2 separate regions of the Homo sapiens genome follow, and region 1 is linked to region 2. The links are contacts of gene promoters, found by promoter capture Hi-C in human tissues and cell types (Jung and others, 2019). All regions are on one chromosome and are shown on one strand. The core of a region is centred on a gene start or on the middle of the fragment in contact, and the rest is flanking DNA. Distances in the headings are between cores, read along the strand shown.

Region 1 (5,982 bases), core at 1,463-3,962, 350 kb after region 2:
CTCTGTCTCAAAAAAAAAAAAAAAAATACAAAAATTAGTTGGGTGTGGTGGTGGGCACCTGTAATCCCAGTCACTCGGGAGGCTGAGGCAGAGAATTGCTTGAACCTGGGAGGCGGAGGTTGCAGTGAGTCAAGATCACGCCACTGCACTCCAGCCTGGGCGACAGAGTGAGACTCCATCTCAAAAAAAAAAAAAAAAAAAAAAGTGCTGGGATTACAGGTGTTAGCCACAGTGCCCAGCCTGGGAATTTCTAATAAAAGAGTCAAATGGGGTTGGGCGTAGTGGCTGGGCAACATGGTGAAACTTGTCTCTACAAAAAATACAAAAATTAGCCAAGTGTAGTGTAGCGGTGCATGTCTGTAGTCCCAGCTACTCGGGAGGTAGGAGAATTGCTTGAGTGTAGGAAGTCAAAGAAAGCTGCGGTGAGCCATGATCACACCCCTGCACTCCAGCCTGGGCGAGCCTAGGCTAGACCTTAGAGCGAGACCCTGTCTCAAATAAAGAAAGAAATACATTCCCATTTTCTGGTGAAAATTTCCATCTTTTCATGCATGTTGCCCAGGTTCTTCTGCTTGCTTTACTATATTTGTAACAGTTTTTGTAAAACAGAAACTCCTGGTCTGCTAATTCCAATACTTGTGTCACATATGGACCTGCTTCTATCGGCTATTTTTCCCCCATCAATTATGGATCACATAAGATATGAAGCAGCAAGGAAACAATAATCAGATTATTATTTCCTTGCTGAAGCATTTTATACATAGCAACTGTCAAAGTCCAAATATACAGACAAATCTTTAAGTTTAATGTTTAATTTTAGGAAGAATTTCAATTCGGTATGTTCAAGAACAAAAGAAAATCGGGATTCTTTTGGAAAGAGAAACGTTATCTATTGCTTTGAAAGAAAGCCCGTTGGCACTGGTAGTTCGGGGGAGCTGGCAAGCTCAGGCGAGTGGCCTCAGTGGTAAAACCAGCACTGGAGGCCAGGCACGGTGGCTCACGCCTGTAATCCTAGCACTTTGGGAGGCTGAGGTGGGCAGATCACCTGAGCTCAGGAGTTCGAGACCTACCCGGCCAACATGATGAAACCCCGTCTACTACAAACACAAAAATTAGCTGGGTGTGGTGGCGGGTGCCTGTAATCCCAGCTACTTGGGAGGCTGAGGCAGGAGAATTGCTTGAGCCTGGGAGGTGGAGGTTGCAGTGAGCCGAGGTTGCAGTGAGCCGAGATCGCACCACTGCACTCCAGCCCGGGTGAAAGAGTGAGACCCCATCTCAAAAAAATAAATAAATAAATAATAAAAAAATAAAATAAAAAATAAAAAACCCGGTGTTCGTGTCAGGGCAGGTCGTTTCAGCAGCTACTCGGTGAACTGGCTGAGGTGACAGCAGATCGTTTCGGCAGCTGGCTTGCGGGAAATTTAATTCTTGGAGCAGGCATTCTGGGTCCTGAGTGCTTTTCCCCAGCCCTAGCCCCTAGACTCCAGCTTAGTAATCAGCTCTCACAGAACCATCACGTCGGAGGCAGCCTTCCACCCCCTTTCCTCCCGCGCACAGGCAGGATGAGCTGCTCCCCTTTCGGGTCGGAAGCTGCAGCTGTATTTGGTTTCAGTTCGGCTGTTTTCAGCTCACAGAGAATGAACTGTCTTATTGTGTGACCCTTGCTCCGTCCAGCGGACGCTCGGAGACCAGAGGGACTTTTCCCGCCCTCTCCAGCCCAGCCTCGCCTCCCCAGCACGTGGCAAACGTCCCACGGAGGGGACTGGTGGGCATCTGGGGCTCCCCCGGATCCAGCTGATTGCAGGAGCCTCTCGGCCATTCACACTTGGCCACCTCCTCTCCCCCAGCAGAACCCCTTCAGCTTTAGGGGCCGGTCCGCGGCCTCAGGCAGCAGATGAGCCCCGGGCGGAGTGGAGTGGGCGAGGCCAGCTCCTCGCTGGGGGCCCTTTAGACCCCGTGTTCACAGCTCTCCAGCTCTCCTCTAGTCTAATTTATTAATGTTCTGTGTCTTTTTCTTTCAGGGGTTCAGCATGAGTGAAGGCCCACATCCTACCTCCGAGCAGCAAGTGAAACCGAGTGGGGGCCAGCACCCAGCTCAGGGGCTCGAGGGTGAGGCTGTGGGGTCCTTCCTCCTACCCCGCGGGGCCCTGCAGCTCCCAGCGTCACTTCCGTGGATGTGGCCACCACGAGTCCCTGCCGAGGCCTGGAGAGGCTGCGTGGGCTTCTAAGAGCATCTGTGGGAGACCCGCAACAGGGGCGGGGTCAAGGCCCCCAAAGAGCCCGTCCCCGCCTGGGCGGGTGACTCCCTCCCTCCCTTACCTCCTTTCTATGACCCTCTCGGGGTTTAGGGGTGTTCCTGCCCCCCACCTGCGCGCGGGCGGGTCCAGGGCTTGGTGGACACGGAGAATCCCAGGCTCCGTGCCCTGCAAACACGGGCGTGAGGGGCGCAGGGGTGAACGCTGGAGGCGGAGAACCCAAGAGGGGCTGCGGGGTCAGCCTTGGGGCAGCCGGGCTGGAGGCAGCTTCGCTCCGCAGACGCAGACGCGAGACCCGCCTGGGACCCTCCGCCGACCCCGCTGCGGCCCCGCGACCCCCGCGTCTTCCCGGCGCCGCGCGGTCAGCGCCGCCCCCTAGACACCCGGCGCCGTCCCCTCCGCGCGCCTGCTGCCCGCTGGGGTTATTTTAATACCGGGCCCTGGCGCGGGGCGCGGCGCATTCCCAGCTGGCGGCGGGCAGGTGGCGGCGGCGCAGAGACCCGGCGCGGGGCGGGGGGCGCGGCTTTGGTGGCGGGACTGGCGGGCGCCCCTGCCGTGTGCTCTGGAAGCCGAGGCCACCGCGGAGCCCCTCGCGCCCCCTCTGCGCTGGGACAGGGGAGCGCGCCTCGGAAAGTTCCCCGCGGCCCCGCTGCGCGAGGAGTTTGGAGCCGCGAGCGGCTGCCCCCACGCGCGACCCCAGGCTCGGCGGGCAGGTCTGGCCGCTCAGTGACCGGAGGCAGGTGGGTCCTCGGTGGGTGACCGGGAGCGCGCGGGGACTGCCGGGTCTGTGCCCTTCGGGGCCCTCCGCAGGGCTGGGCCGGGGTTTCGCGGTGGGAACCCACCCTGGGCGAGGGGAGCGGGGTCCAGCGAGGCGGCTTCTCCCGTGCCGTGGAACTTTCGGCCCCTCCCCTTCCCCCCTAGCGACCCTGGAGCAATCCTAGCGGCCCGGCGGCCGCTGTCCCCCTGCCCGTGACTCGGGCTCGCGCACAACTGGGGAGCCCGGTGCACCCTCGGCTTCTGCGCCGTCCCCTGGGTGAGGGCTCTGGAAATGCCCTGGGTGGGGGCAGCAAGGGGGTGAGGGTCCCCTGGACAGATGGAGCTGGGAGCTGCTCGGCCTGGTGGGAAAGGGCGGACAGGGCACATTTCCAGGCCCTGGAAGGCCCCCAGCGCCCCCACCTGTTGACAACTCCCCACCCCAGCCAAGACTGCTCCCTGCGCAGCCATGAGTGTTCGGCCTAAATTCAGCGTGGCTCGTGGAATCAGGCAGCCTCCTGTGTCTTGTTTCTTCAGCCCACCACCGCGCTGTTTCATCCAGGCTGCTGACCCCAGCGGCGACTCCTTCACTGGCTTCATGTCACAGTTTGCCTGCCCCGTCCACTGGGGACATTTGAGCTGTTTCCAGCTTCTTAGGAGTCAAGCTGCCGTGAACTTTCGCACGCTTGTCATTTTCTGAACGTTGGCAGCCCTTTATCTAAGGTACTAACCTGAGAGTAGAATTGCCGGGTGAGAAGGTATAGGCGGTCAACTCTGCAAATCGTGCCAATGGCTTTCCAAAGCGGCGGCACAGTCCAGGTTCCCAGCAACAGGAAACGGCAGGGCCAGCTCCTCCACAGCCCCCACGCCTGTTGACAAGGATATCTGCCTTTTCACGCGTTCATCCTTGTCAGCACGCAGGGGCTCCTGTGGCCCTGACTGGCATTTCCCTGCTTGTTGGCTGCGTGGGTGTCCTTTTCAGGAAGTCCCCGGTCACGGTTTTGGTCTCTTTTTTTCAAATGGGTTGTTTGTCTTTTCCTTACTAATTTGCAGTTCTTCCCTATATTTTTCTTACCAGCTTTTTGTCTATGTTTCTTCTTTTTTTTTTTCTCTGAGACAAAGTCTCACTTTGTTGCCCAGGCTGGAGTGCGGTGGCACAATCTCAATCTTGGCTCACTGCAACTTCCACCTCCCGAGTTCAAACAATTCTCCTGCCTCAGCCTCCCGAGCAGCTGGGATTACAGGCGTGTGCCACCATGCCCGACTAATTTTTGTATTTTTAGTAGAGACGGGGTTTCGAGATGTTGGCCAGGCCGGTTTCGAACTCCTGACCTCAGGTGATCCACTTGCCTAGGCCTCCTAAAGTGCTGGGATTACAGGCGTGAGCCACTGCAACTGGCCTGATATATGTTTTCTGATGATCTCCTAGCCTGTGGCTTATGATTTCGCTCTCTTGGTAAAGTTCTTAATTTTAATGAAACCCATTTGCTTAGTCTTTTATTGAAAGTATTTTTTGTTCATTTTTAAGAAATATTTTCCCATCCAAGGTTATGCCAGTATTCCCGTTTTCTTCCAGAACCTCGACTGACTGATTTAACCTTTCACACTTAGGCCTGCAATCCATCTTGAATTCGTTTCCCTGTATGAGAAATGGAGATTGCAGAGGCCTTCCTCTCCTTACATGTTCTTCTATTTGGACTTTTAAAGTCAGTAGCTACTAGTTTTGCAATCTAAAGAAAACATTTTTTTAAATGTACAAGTCAAATAAATACGAGAAAGGACTCAGGAGTAAGTGGGCCCCACCTGTGCACAGACAAGAAAGTGAGGCCTGGGGGGGCGCAATGGGCAGAGCCCAGGACTCCCAGTTCTGTCCACTGCCGACCTCTGCCCCAGGGGCTGCCCTCCTGTGTTCCGGCTTTCAGAAAAGCCCAGTTCATCCCAGAGGCCATGGGACCTACAGTGAGGGGGGGGCAGGGGTCCTGCTGGGGCATGCGGGGGTCGGGGAGGGGGGTTGGGGCAGCTCGTCTGGTGGCTCTTGAGTCCTCCTGCAGAGCTGGTGGCTTCCAGAGAGTCCCGAGAGTTGGAGGGCACTGGGGAGCCCACGTGACTCTGTGGGAACGAGGCCATCACAGTGGCCTCCTGGGAGCGGAAGGTGTTGCCTGATTTGCTTCTTTCCCCACAGGCTGAGCTGGTTGCCCACAGGGGCCCCCGCCCCATCTCAGGGAGTGTCCACCCAGCCCTGAGCCCGTCGTGAGGGGTCAGAGATGGCGCTGACCCCCGAGTCCCCGAGCAGCTTCCCTGGGCTGGCCGCCACTGGCAGCTCTGTGCCGGAGCCGCCTGGCGGCCCCAACGCAACCCTCAACAGCTCCTGGGCCAGCCCGACCGAGCCCAGCTCCCTGGAGGACCTGGTGGCCACGGGCACCATTGGGACTCTGCTGTCGGCCATGGGCGTGGTGGGCGTGGTGGGCAACGCCTACACGCTGGTGGTCACCTGCCGCTCCCTGCGTGCGGTGGCCTCCATGTACGTCTACGTGGTCAACCTGGCGCTGGCCGACCTGCTGTACCTGCTCAGCATCCCCTTCATCGTGGCCACCTACGTCACCAAGGAGTGGCACTTCGGGGACGTGGGCTGCCGCGTGCTCTTCGGCCTGGACTTCCTGACCATGCACGCCAGCATCTTCACGCTGACCGTCATGAGCAGCGAGCGCTACGCTGCGGTGCTGCGGCCGCTGGACACCGTGCAGCGCCCCAAGGGCTACCGCAAGCTGCTGGCGCTGGGCACCTGGCTGCTGGCGCTGCTGCTGACGCTGCCCGTGATGCTGGCCATGCGGCTGGTGCGCCGGGGTCCCAAGAGCCTGTGCCTGCCCGCCTGGGGCCCGCGCGCCCACCGCGCCTACCTGACGCTGCTCTTCGCCACCAGCATCGCGGGGCCCGGGCTGCTCATCGGGCTGCTCTACGCGCGCCTGGCCCGCGC
Region 2 (6,429 bases), core at 2,423-4,922:
GGGCTCACCCACAACGAAGACCTTCAGCAACTCCACCATGAGCTGCAGCGCGTCCCCGCTCACTGCAAGGCAGGGGGAGGTTATGCGGGACCCTCACCCACCGCTCTGGCTGGGTGCTCCAGACATACCCCCGCCCTCCCGAGGCCTTGGCCCTGCAGAGTTGCAGGAAAGGGTCCCTGAGGACAGACACGGGGACCCACCTCCCGCCCGCACCCCCACCCGCACCTTTGGTCTTGTCATCCTTGAAGTGCAGGTGCAGCAGCCTGCTCACCAGCTCCTAGAAGGGAGGGGGGTGTCAGCGCCACGCCCCGCCCTCCCCCCCGCACCCCCCAGGGTGGTGACCATTCTGGTGACAGTGGCTGTGACTTCTGGCTGGAGACGCCCTCTGTGCCTGAGCCTCTCCCAGGGCAGGGGACAAGGGCCAGCCTAGTGCTTCGGGTGGCAGAAGCTGAAGCAGATGCGTGGGCAGCTCCACTAGGGGGCGCCAGGGCCCTGCACAGGGTCTGGGCTGGGAGCCTCCCTACGGCGTGAGTGGTCGCAGACACGGGAGCAGGCCCCGCTGCTGGGGCTCCAGGGAGAGAGTGGAGAAAGGCCTCGTCGAGTCCGGCCTAATCTTGCACTCCCATCCCCGGCAGAGGGCCATGGCTCTGCTCTCCTTGTGGGGAGGCAGGGAAGGCAGAGCCCGGGTTGGGTCTGGAGGCTGGAGGTGGCTGCTCTGCAGGTGGGCTGGCCTGAGGGAGTGCCACCAGTAGGGCCTTCCTTGTGCCAACTCTGTTCTGGGTGCTGGGTCAGCTCCGCCCGTCTTGCCCTGGTGCTCATGATCCTGCAGGAGGTGCTGGTGTCCTGGGAGCGCAGAGCGGGGCTGCGCCAGCGTGGTCCACAGGCTGGAGTGAGGGGTGGGCCAGACGCTGAGGGCCCAGGGCATGATGAGCTCTCCGTGTCTCCATGGCAGGAAACTGGGAGTCCTCTCTAGGTTTTTGTGGAAAGCAGCACTGGCGTTGGAAAGGACCACTCTGGCTGCCATGCCCGGGGTGGGGGGAAGGGAGGGGGCTGCAGAGCCAGGGCCTTTCTGCCTTTCTGATGGATGGAGGACGGGGACAAGGGAGGAGTCTACGCCAAGACCCCAAAAGGACGGCACTGCTCTGAGGAGATGGGGGGCCGTGGGCAAGTGCATTTTGGAGCTAGGACACAGGAGATCAGTTTGGGATGCGTTGTGTGTGAACACAGGAGTGGTGGGTGGCAGCTGCAGTGGTGGCGGCCGAGACTCAGGAGGGCAGCCCTGGGTGGCTGGTGGAGCCATGAGACTCAGTGAGGTGGCCCAGGCCAGGCACCGGCCCACAGCCGCCGGGAAAGGAGCCAGCACGGAGAGTCCAGGACTGGGGGTGGGGGCAGTGGGCACCCAGGAGCCCAGAAACAGGCCACTAAAAGGGCAGGTGGGTGAACTACCAGCCAGGCCACCAGCATCGGCCACAGGGAGGTCACAGCACCTCACCCAGAGCAGTCCAGCAGGTGACAAGCAGAGCATGGACGGGTGAAGCCCTAAGATGCAGATGGTGAAGAATGTTCCCCAGCAGCGGGCAGCAGGGTCCAGCATCCCGGCTTGTCCAGCATCCCGGCTCGTCCTGAGCCCTTGCTGTTCCCTAGCCAGGGTCCCAGTCACCACCCGCATGAGCCCAGTGCCACCTGCTGGTCCTTCCAGCTGCTTACTGCCAGCAGTACCAGAAAGGCACCAGAAAAGGTAGAGAAGGCACTATCTCCCCACCTGCTCCGGGACCCCCAACACTGCTGCCCCAGGCCTTGGAAGGAAGACCACGCCAGAGAGTGGCGGATGCCAGGTCTGCCTCGACAATCCATGGGGCTTCCCCGTACATCGGCAGTGGCCTCGGAAGGCAGGCCCAGCACTGGGGCGGTTGTGGAGGGTGCCTAGGACACAGCCAGCTTTGCCCCATGACGTGGGCGCCACGCCAGGGCTACGGGCCCCCCACTCCCCGTCATTCTCACGCTCATTCTCTGCAATGACCACAACTCCAGCTCTGGCCAGAGCCCCTGGGCCTCTAGTTGTCAGGTGGGCTTGATAGAACACATGACCTCCTGGGGTGTGTACCCAGTGCCCCGTCTCCGGCAGTGGCCTTTTGGCTACTTTAACCTGGTGTTCTCACAACCACCCAGTGAGGTGGCCCAAGCCTCAGTGACTTTCTCTTTCTGAATTCCGGCAAGAATCTTCAACTCCACCACCAGAGTTCCCCACACCGACACCCCCCGCCCCCCACGCCTGCTGCCTTGGGTGATAAAGAAGGGCCTGATTCAGGAGAAACAGAATTCTCCCTGCTTCTACAGGGCTGAAGTCCTCCCTCCAGGATGGGTTCACAAGGGCCTGAGACCCTCCCTTCCCAGGCCACAGAGGCCCACGAGGCCCTGCTGACATCGAGGAAGCTCGGTGCCCCAACCTTCAGGTAGAGCAGTAGAAAGGTTCAGAAACCACTCTGCCTGCACCGATGGGGTCCTCTGCACATGGCACCCCCAGAGAGCTCCACTTCCAGGAACAGGGAAGAGCAGGGCACGCCCTCCAGCCTGGGCGGATCCTGGCTCAGACGGCCTAGGTCTGACCCTAGCCCTGCTGAGTCACTTAACGCCCCCGTGCCTCAGTTTCTCCACTGGCAGGTGGGGTTAATCCCTGTCAAGTGTGTGTAACGTGGAGCACCGAAGAAACCACGCGTTCCTAGCCCAGTGCTGGCGCCCACCGGGGAGCAAACAAAAGGGAAACCACTGTGCCTGGCGGCTGGGGTAGGTCCTGCCGGCTCCTCGGGCTGGACGATCTCACTGTCCCCGTCCTGGGGCCTCATCTCCCCTTAACAAAAGACCCCAGGCTCAGGGCGCAGGGCGGCGGCCCAGCTCCTCCTCTCTCTTCGCCGGCTTGGACTCCGCCGTGACGGCGCCCACCCCTGCCTGTTTCTGCAGACCCTCTCCACCTTCCCGCAGCCCCGGCTGCTCCACGCCCCCTCCTACCAGCTGCGAGACACCAGCCCACGAGGGCGCGGGGCGCGCGGCCCGGCCGGAGATGGAGTCTGAGAACGGGCCCAACCTCAAAGGCACAGGGGGCGGCGCGGGGGCTGGCGTCTGGCCCTCACAGTGTCACGCGTGAGGTCGGGACGGAGCGTCCGCGCCTGCCTAGCCCCTGCCCTCCGGCCCTCACCTTCCGGAAGCCGGATCCAGCTCCTGCTCCCTCCATGACCGCAGCCTCAACGCGCGCCCACCGGAACCCCGCCCCGCGCCTCCAGCCAATGAGACCGGAGCGCGCCCCCGGAGCCCCGCCCCGCGCCCCTAGCCAATGAGTCCGAAGCGCCTGCTCTCGGAGCCCCGCCCCCACGTCTCAGCCAATGAGCCCGGAGCGCGCCCTCCAGCAGCCCCTCCCTCACGTCCCGCAGCCAATGAACTTGGAACGCGCCCTCCCGGGGCACCACCCTCACGACCCTCAGCCAATGAGCCCGGAGCATGCCCTCCCGGGGCCCCACCCTCATGCCCCTAGCCAATGAACCTGGAGCGCGCTGCCCCCTCTCAGCTTGCGGCCCGAAAGGCGCGCCAGTTCCTTTGTTCTCATTGGCCCGCACCAAGCGCTGCCTGCGCAGAGCCTGCTAGGAGTTGTAGTTCCCGCGGCCTCTCCCGGCGCGCCTTGTTCTTCCTGGATACTGAGGCCCCGACGCGGCTGTCGCGAGGGCGGGGGTCGGGGCTGCAGGCGGGGCAGGGCTGGGTGGGGGCGCGCGACGCACCTGCCTGCTTCCTGCACGGGTGGTCCCCAAGCACTGCGGGGCCCCAGCCCAAAGCGGACCTTGACTACCGCCCAGCCCCGCGCTCCCAGGACCTCCCGCCCGCGGAGCCCACTCGGATTGCTCTCCGCCCGGGTCGGCGGAGGCCCCGTCTCCTGTACCCGGCGCTGGGACTGCTCCGCACCGCGCGGCTCCCTTTCAGCAGCTGCGGGAGCATGCGGAGGAGGCCCTGCCGGCCCCGCGGGTCATGGAGGAGTTCCGGCGCTCCTACAGCCGCCTGTGCAGGGAGAGTGGGGCCGAGCCCCAGGAGGCTGTCCTGCAGCAGCTGCACCAGCTTCCCAGGGGCCGGCTGGACCTGGCCACGCAAAGCCTGACGGTGGAGACCTGCAGGGCCCTGGGCAAGCTGCTGCCGAGGGAGACGCTGTGCACGGAGCTGGTCCTGAGTGACTGCATGCTCAGCGAGGAAGGTGGGCAGGCGCGGCGGGGTGGATCCCTCTGCTCCTTAGCTGCCCACACCATTGCCTCGGCAGCCCGAGGTCGCTTCCTCTCCAGGCTCTCCAATTTCTGTGCCGTAGTTAAAGCGAGCAGGGGCGCCCCTTCCTGCACCTGGGAGTAGAGGGCAGTTCCTCTGTATGACGGGGGAGAGGCCTTAACATTCGCGGTCTTACCTGGTTCCCCGCGTGCAGAGCCGGCTTGGTGCCTGGCAGGGGCTGCAGGTGTTTCAAACATGACTTCGCAGCGAGACTCTTGGCCAGCGCCAACCCAGACCATCGGGACAGTTGTCCCTTCCTGGGTCTAGGGAGCTGCCCTGAAAAGGGGCCCACGGGGAGGGCCTTGGGGTCAGCAGGGGCAGAGAGTGACCGCCGGCCCCCCTTACACAGGGGCCACACTGCTGCTCCGAGGCCTGTGTGCCAACACCGTGCTGCGCTTTCTGGACTTAAAGGTGAGATACCTGCACTCTTGAGTGTCCGAGTGTGCCACCCAAGGGCAAGAGGAGAGGTGGAAGATGCCAGGTCTCGGGGGCCTGGGGTCTGGGCAGGTGGCTGGAAGCTGTCTGTGAGTCCCCAGGCCGCTCTCTGATGGCCTCCTGTGTGTGACCATCTCCAGAGCAAGAGTTCACATTGGCAAACAAGCCGGCCCTTGGAAGCCCCCTGAAGACAGGGAGCCCAGGAGCTGAGGAAGGCTGCAGGGTGCACCCCAGGCTTGTCCCCTGGCTGACCAAGGCCCTTGGGGCATGGGCGGGAATTCAGAGCCAGTCAGGGCACGCGAGTGACTACCGGCCTGTTTCTCTCCTAGGGCAACAACCTTCGGGCTGCAGGGGCCGAGGCTCTGGGAAAACTCCTCCAACAGAACAAGTCCATTCAGAGGTGGGTGGTGGTCCCGACCCCAGGCCCTGTCTCTGTGTGGTTGAGGATTGGCCCCGAGCACATGCTTCTGCAGCCCAAGAGTTCCCCATTGCCAGGTGCCCATGTTTCACATACGTTGGCAGGGGTAGGCAGAGGCTCCGGCCCATCAGACCCCAAGCCCACACCCGTCCCCAAGCCCTGGACCCCACGGGCTAGGCAGTCCCCTAGGTGAACACTGGCTTCTGCCCCTCCTGCAGCCTCACGCTGGAGTGGAACAGCCTGGGCACGTGGGACGATGCCTTCGCCACCTTCTGCGGGGGCCTGGCGGCCAACGGCGCCCTGCAGCGGCTGGACCTCCGCAACAACCAGATCAGTCACAAGGGCGCGGAGGAGCTGGCCCTAGCCCTGAAGGGCAACACCACCCTCCAGCAGCTGGGTGAGGCCTCCCAGGCGCCCTCAGGCTCCCTCATCCCTCTGAGGCTGCCTCTGCTCTGGGAAGTGAGGGGCTAGGGGACTGGCCTGTGCTCCTGCTCTGTTGATGACTGCAAGGCAGTGCCCCCTAGGGAAGCACCCCGGCCAGGCCAGCTCCCCCTCTGCCAGGTGCATTCTGTCTGGTGACTACAGGTTTCCTTCCAGACCTGCGCTGGAATAACGTTGGCCTCCTGGGGGGCCGGGCCCTCATGAACTGTCTCCCCAGCAACAGAACCCTGTGGAGACTGGACCTGGCTGGGAACAACATCCCTGGAGACGTCCTCAGAGCCGTGGGTACGGTGCAGGGCTGTGTGGAGTGACGCGTGAGCCTTTGACAGAGGCCTGTCCACCGAGGGCGGGGTGCCGGGCTCAGGACGGGAACTGATGAGGAGAGCAGCCTGAGAGCCCAGGGGAAGCAGGAAGGAGCGGAGGGGTCGTGGGGCACCTGTTTGGCACTTGAATGGCGTTCGCCACACATGGGCACTGTCCGAGGCGCCCTGTGTACTTGCTGAGTTCTTAGGACCTGTGCAGTGGAGGGTGCCCGTTTCACAGCTGGGGAAGCTGAGGCCGTGTGGCTCACAGTCCTGGCCTTGGTGGCTTTGCTGATGCTTCGGGTGGCCCAGGTCTTGGCCTTGGCCAGGAAGGCTCCCTGGTCACCCTGAGTCTGTGGCCCTGCATGTGAGTCAGGTGAGGTGGGGCCCCCTGGCTTGTGCTGGCCTCCACACATTCCCTCCCACCAGCGACCCCGAATCCTTGCAGCTGATGTCTCAGCCTCAGGCCCCAGTGCCCCAGACTCAGCTGGGGACTTTGCCAGGCCCCCCGTACTCCCTAATCCGCGCACAGCGGCA

What was found. The method cuts DNA at HindIII sites, captures the fragments that hold promoters and counts their contacts. A contact is called where the count stands out against the background at its distance.
Region 1: the fragment with the promoter of UTS2R here is called in contact with the fragment with the promoter of LRRC45 in region 2 in 1 of the 25 tissues and cell types used here (pancreas).

The regions. Positions count from the first base shown.
Region 1 is chr17:82,369,053-82,375,034 of GRCh38, forward strand. UTS2R (urotensin 2 receptor) reads left to right here and starts at 2,713. Exons shown (of 3, transcript NM_018949.3): 1 at 2,713-2,995; 2 at 3,546-3,731; 3 at 5,191-5,982. The coding sequence starts at 5,273. The HindIII fragment of the contact is 34,629 bases long and covers 1-5,982 here.
Region 2 is chr17:82,019,633-82,026,061 of GRCh38, forward strand. LRRC45 (leucine rich repeat containing 45) reads left to right here and starts at 3,673. Exons shown (of 17, transcript NM_144999.4): 1 at 3,673-4,231; 2 at 4,646-4,707; 3 at 5,061-5,131; 4 at 5,368-5,546; 5 at 5,747-5,875. The coding sequence starts at 4,012. It overlaps CENPX (centromere protein X), which reads right to left and starts at 3,246. Exons shown (of 5, transcript NM_001271006.2): 1 at 3,194-3,246; 2 at 226-277; 3 at 9-62. The coding sequence starts at 3,229. RefSeq lists enhancers at 1,501-2,173, 3,723-4,646 and a silencer at 2,937-3,986. The HindIII fragment of the contact is 20,224 bases long and covers 1-6,429 here.